Linked DNA regions of Homo sapiens: region 1 is linked to region 2. Evidence: promoter capture Hi-C in human tissues and cell types (Jung and others, 2019). All regions are on one chromosome and are shown on one strand. Each heading gives the region's core, a stretch centred on a gene start or on the middle of the fragment in contact. The rest is flanking DNA. Distances are from core to core; before and after follow the strand shown. Region 1 has its middle 27 kb from the start of CD2. Region 2 holds the start of PTGFRN (prostaglandin F2 receptor inhibitor).

What was found. Contacts are between HindIII fragments. The study calls those that stand out against the background at their distance.
Region 1: a contact is called between a fragment that was not itself captured here and the fragment with the promoter of PTGFRN in region 2, in 1 of the 25 tissues and cell types used here (mesenchymal stem cells).

The regions. Positions count from the first base shown.
Region 1 is chr1:116,779,791-116,782,989 of GRCh38, forward strand. No RefSeq gene overlaps it. Among named protein-coding and RNA genes, the nearest start is that of CD2, 27 kb to the left of the region's middle. The HindIII fragment of the contact is 4,325 bases long and covers 1-3,199 here.
Region 2 is chr1:116,908,613-116,911,778 of GRCh38, forward strand. PTGFRN (prostaglandin F2 receptor inhibitor) reads left to right here and starts at 1,304. Exons shown (of 9, transcript NM_020440.4): 1 at 1,304-1,640. The coding sequence starts at 1,592. The HindIII fragment of the contact is 8,899 bases long and covers 1-3,166 here.

The DNA.
Region 1 (3,199 bases), core at 314-2,813, 130 kb before region 2:
AGGTATTTATAAGTTTAGTAAGTCAGGATGAATAAATAAACAAATATGTCTTAAGAGCAAAGACCATAAAAACAAAAATAAAATACGTTCTTTTAAACCAGCAAAAGAAAATCGTATCTACTCAGTGAAGAGTAAAATTAGAAAAGAAAAAAAAGTATCAGTAATGAAAAACATGAAATAAAATGGAAGAAATAAGTAATAATATAAAGTGATTATGAGAAATGTAAATAGGTTAAACAACCAATCAAAAGAGAACATCTCAAATTGAGCATTTTGAAAGATCCAACAATATACTGTTTACAGAAGACAACTTTACAACAAAAGAATACAAAAAGTTTGAAAATAAAGAAAATATGATCCAAAAGAAAGCTGAAGCAACAATCTTAATATCTAATAGAAAAATTCAAAGGACAAAAAAGGAAACCATACTTGTTGAAAGAATAGTAGAGCAAACACATATGCACCTGACAATATTGCAACAAAAAAATAAGGTAATCGACAGAACTTCATAGCAAATAAATAAATTAATCATTTTAATTGGAAGTTTTAACACAAAAAAATTATTGAGGAGGAAATGGAGTCTTCAGAAATGAATAGGTTTAGCAGAGAAAAAGCAGTGATATAGAAATCTGAGTATTTTAATTAATAAGCTTTATTTATATCCAACAGAAAACACACAATCTTTTTGGGCATATATGAAACAATTTTAAAAATTAATCATATATTAATCCACAAAGAAAGTTACAAGAAAGTCTAATGAATGAATGTTATCAAGAATATATTTTTCAATCATAATGAATTAAAATTATAAAATATTTTTCAAAAGCATAGTGAAAAAACTGTTAGATTACTAGAGAACATTTTTCCAAAACTATGTTATTTCTAGAAATAGAATTTTTTTCTAGAAATGCATTATTTCTAGAAAACCCAGAAAACAATTATTAATAGTTGGTCTAACAGTAAAATGAAAGTTCTGATAATAAAATAATAATAACAAATGAAGCTAATAAATATATAAAACTGGTAATGAAAACACTTCAAAATTTGAAGACCACATCTACAGTAGGTTTTAGAGACAGATGTATAGCTTTAATTACATTTATCAAGATATAAGACAGATTGAAAACAAAGAGTAATACTCAAGAATACAGGGAAGGGACAAGCAAAGAAACAGAAAGAAAGAAATAATAACAAAGATAGAACAGATATCAATGACCTAGAGAAAAACAACAACAAAACAGAGAAGATTAATAAAACCTTAAACTGGTGTTTCAGAAAGATTAATAAGATAGATGTGACAAGGCTACTAAAGTGAAAAAAAAAGAGGTAGAAAGTACAAATTTAAAAACTGAATGCAAATGGGGAAATAACCACAGACACAGCAGAGGTTTTAAAATTAATAATTAATATTGTAATAATTATACAATACAAATTTAATTAATAATTAAAATGTAATAAATTAATACATTTTTAAAAGTACTGGCTGGGAGCGATGGCTCACGCCTATAATCCCCAGCACTTTGGGAGGTTGAGGCGGGCAGATCACGAGGTCAGGAGATCGAGACTATCCTGGCTAACACGGTGAAACCCTGTCTCTACTAAAAAAAACAAAGTACAAAAAATTAGCCTGGCATGGTGGTGGGCCGCTGTAGTCCCAGCTACTCGGGAGGCTGAGGCAAGAGAATGGCATGAACCCAGGAGGTGAAGCTTGCAGTGAGCCGAGATCGTGCCACTGCAATCCAGCCTGGGGGATAGAGGGAGACTCCGTCTCAAAAAAATAAATAAATAAATAAAATAAAAGTACAAGCCCTTCTGACATATAAATGTAGATGCAAAAATTCTAGATGAAATATTAACAAACAAATTCAACACTATATTTTTAAAAACATATCATGATGAAGTGGAGTTTATCCCAGCAATGTAAGGAAATGGCAACATAAAAATAACCTACCAATAAAATTACAACATTAATAGTCTAAAGGAGAAAAATCATGATTATATTAACGTATGCATGGATGGAAGGGGTAAAACCAAATATTTACTCAAAAGCCTTAACAGGCTAGGAATAGAAGCTCTTGCCATCATTGCTAACAGGCCCCCTTCTAATGATGAAAGTTTACCTGGACACATGGTTGTGAAGTTAAGACTACGTTTTCCATCCACTCTTTTTTTTTTTTTTTTTTTTTGAAACTGAGGTTTGCTGTGTCACCCAGGCTGGAGCACAGTGGCACAATCACTGCAGCCTCGACCTCCTCAGCTCAGGTGATCCTCCCACCTCAGCCTCCCAAGTAGCTGGGACCACAGGTGCATGCCACATCTGGCTAATTTTTAAATTATCATTATTTGTAGAGACGGGGTCTCCCTATGTCGCCAGGCTGGTCTCAACCTTCTGGGCTCGAGCGATCCTCTGCCTTAGCTTCCCAAAAGTACTGGGATTATAGAACTGAGTTATTGTGCCTGGCCCCATCCACTCTTGCTATGTATTAAATAGACTCTGGTCAAAGGGATACATTTTGAGCATCTGGCACTGCTGAGTCAAATGAACAAATCGTACAGCATTTGGCATCAAAAAATTCACTCCTGGCTATACATTAACACATCTTAGAGAAGTACCCACACGGACCCATAATGTCTGTTCTTGTAAAGAATTGTAGGTACTCTAGGTCATGACCAGGAGAATGGATAAGTAAAATTTGGTACTTGCATGGAATGTTTTGTTGTTGTTGTTGTTGTTGTTGTTGTTGTTGTTGTTTTGAGGCGGAGTCTCGCTCTGTTGCCCAGGCTGGAGTGCAGTGGTGCAATCTCAGGTCACTGCAAGAGACAGGGTTTCACGGTGTTAGCCAGGATGGTCTCGATCTCCTGACCTCATGATCCGCCCGCCCTGGCCTCCCAAAGTGCTGGGATTACAGGCATGAACCACCGCGCCCAGCCATTTACATGGAATTTTATTAGCAACTAGAGACAACAGATTAAAAGAGTACCCAGCAACAAGAAGACACCTTAAAAACAATACTGCTAATCAGTAGTTGCCAAGGGAAAGCAAATAGAAAGGAGTAGCATGCGGGAGCTCCTTTATGGTGATGGACCAGTTCAGTATCTTGATTGTGGTGGTTACATGAATGTATATGTGGGATTAAATTGCATAGAACTACACACACACACACACACAAAGAGAGAGAGAGAGATAGAGAGAGAGGGC
Region 2 (3,166 bases), core at 54-2,553:
TGAGACCCTGTCTCAAAAATGAAAGAAAGAAAGAAGACAAAACAAATAAAAACTCCTGGCCTCAAGCAACACCATCCCTGCCCCCCGCCTCCCCCTGCCCCCCCAACCTCAGCCTTCTGAGTAGCTAGCATTACAAGTACCAGTTACCAGGCCTGGCAATTTTAAACATTTCTAAGTGTACCATTCAGTGGCATTAAGTACAATAACGTTGCACCACCAGGAATGAATTTTTAAGTCTCTTTCCAAAGATACCTGGCTAATCACACATTTGATAGTGGGGAAATAAGAAACATTTGTTGGTTGAAAGACGGATGCATGAGAGTAAAAGCAGTGTTCTTCCCCAGTGTGGGCAGTTTCCGCATAAGCATCTGCGATCCGTTTTGCATGTGAATGAAAGCCCAGTGACGGGCAGTGGGCACCAGTGCTGCTCCTTGCGTGTTTGAATCATGCTTGCTAAGTTTCAAGCAAGGAATGCTCCATTTCTCCCAACCAAGTCGGGCCTTTTGTATTCAAATCAAAAGCACAAAACTCTATTGTAGGGGGAAAAATGAGTCTTTATTGGCAATCAGTGGTGTCCACTTAGAGCAATAAATATTAAGTCTTAAGAGTACATTCTATATGAAGTACTATAGCTATTAATACACTTGGGTTTTGTTTGTTTTTTAAATGGGTGTCTTTGTGGGGTGCTGTTCTAATCAGTGCCACAGGCGCCGAGGAGAGGGAGGGAGCTGGGTAAGGAAGGAGACAGGCCCACCCTAGCCACCGGGGAGTGGGCAGAGTCAGGAGAGCGGGGTTCTGATTTTGCCCCTTCCCTGTGAATCCTTGGGCACCTCACCGAAACACTTAAGGCCTCTGTATGGTAGAGGTTGGAATCCGTGGCCTTTAAAAGTCCTTTCAGCTCCTTCGCTCCTATCTGCATAATTTTTGGCATAGGCCAAGCGGCTGGTTGGTGGGGTGTTTAGCTCAGGACGAGAGGCCGAACGAGCGGGGAGTTGGCTGAGGATAGACTAGACACGCGTGGGTGACTCCAGCGTGATGGAACGCGGGGTGTCCCGGGATAGGGCTAAAGCGATGGGATTTCCAGACGAGTCTTTCCCAGGCCAACTTTTAAAGGTCGGAGGAAAGTTTCTCGTGGGGTGGGGGCCCAGAGGGGATGGCAGGGTGGGCTCCGACGCCTCCTCGCCTTTAAGCGGGTGGCCCCGGCTCTTCCTCCGTTACCTGGAGCGGGGAGGGGCTTGGGAAAGTTTGTGTTTGTTGCTGGCAAAGCGCCGGATGGGAGGCGCGGGCGGGCGCTGCGGTTCTTCCCTTCTGCTTTCGGGAAGCGGTCGGGGCTGCACACTCGGATCGGCGGGGCCGGCTCCCGGGCCCGGCCGGCTGGAGGAGGGAGGGAAGGAGGCGGGAGGGAGCGAGCGGAGCCAGGGGCGCACGTACGCCCCAGCGCTGGGATTTATCGGCTCGCGAGGAGAGCGGAGCAGGCGCGCGGCCCAGGCGGAGGAGCGCCGACTCTGGAGCAGCCGGAGCTGGAAGAGGAGGAGGAGGAGAGGCGGCGGGGAAGGAGGAGGAGGGGGAGAGTCGCTCCCGCCGGGCGAGCATGGGGCGCCTGGCCTCGAGGCCGCTGCTGCTGGCGCTCCTGTCGTTGGGTGAGTGTGCGCGGGGCTCAGCGGGGCACACGGGGACTGGCGAGGCCCTGGAGGGCTCGGCGGGGCGCGGCTGCAGCGCGCGGCCTGGGGCGCCGAGGGTGCCCGGGCTGCTCCCGGGAAACCCGGCCGGGGTGCGCGGGTTGTTCGGCCCGGCGGGGAGCGGCCGCGGGGCCGCCCGGAGCCTGGCGCGAATCCGCTCGGGCCCCGCGCGCGGGGTGCAAGTGGCCGCTCCGCCAGGCCGAGCCTCGCCCCCAACATGTGCCGGGGGGAGTGGCCCGGGGCCGTCTTTCCCCCAGGTCTCCCTACCTGTTGGCCGCCGGGAGCCCGGCTCACCTTGAACTCCCGGCCCGGAAGGTGCTGCGGTCCCGGCCCGGGTCCTCGGCTCGAGAGCGGAAATGTGAGCCTTTGATATGCCCCGCCATAGCCGCCGCCGGCCGGGTCGCTCTTCACCCAACCCGCGCGGAGTTGCCTTTCCAGGGAAGCGAGAGAATCCTCCAACTTCCTTCCACGAAGGTCACAGGGTGGCCCGGAGCGTTACAATGGAAATCGGCGGGCGAGTCCTGCCGTCATTTTCGTCGTGGCTAGATCTTCTGCCTCAGTCTTTTCTTTTAGCTTTTCTTGAAGCTGCCTAGCTGCGTATTTATACACAAAGACCTAAAAGCCTGGCTTCTCCAACTTTTTCTACCTGTTACTTTCCCTCCCTTACTATCCCCTCGTCTTCCACCCTCCGGAAACCCTGGGTGCCCCGTGAGGTTTTGGCCCAGCGCCCTCCCCCCACCCAAGGAATCTTTTGTGGGTTTTTTCCCTCTCCATTTTCCATTCACTCCATACACAGACACCATCTTCACGTAGATCCACATGGTGATCCTAGCCAGCCACGGAAATATGTTTATTAAGTGCCCACCATGGTACCCCAGGGCCGACTCTTAAATGTTTTGATATTCTTGGATCCTTGTTGTCAGTGTCAACCAGGACAAGATGATTCCTGTGACCTGGCCTGGGGTTCTCTTCCAAGCCCCTAGAGAAGGCGGCTCTGAGTCTTTCACAGAGCGCATGATGTGCGGTGTCCGTGCCATTCAGGTCCCAGCTGCACACAGGGCAAATGATTACTCTGCACTTATGGTCAGAGGGTTCCAGAGGAGGCCTTCTATAGCTACTCCCCTGCTGGGGACACCGGGGCCCACACTGCTGTAACCCCCATGACTCCTGCTGCTGATGAACCAGCCTTGCTGGCTGCTGTGTTTTCTTCCTTCACCTTGAAGGGATTTTCTGAACTGACTCCCTCAGAGAGCTCGTCCAGCCACATTGCTTCAGCTTCAGCCCATGTGCAGAAAGCTTCCAGATCTTCCACTTAGTTTTATGGCATCTTTTCTATAGTCCCTGATCCTAGTGCTTTATTTTTATTTTTGAAACAAAGCCTCAGTCTTTCACCCAGTCTGGAGTGCAATGGCACAACCACAGCTCACTGAAGCCTCAAACTCCTGGGCTCAAGTCATTCTCCCACCTCAGTCTCCTGAAGTGCTGGA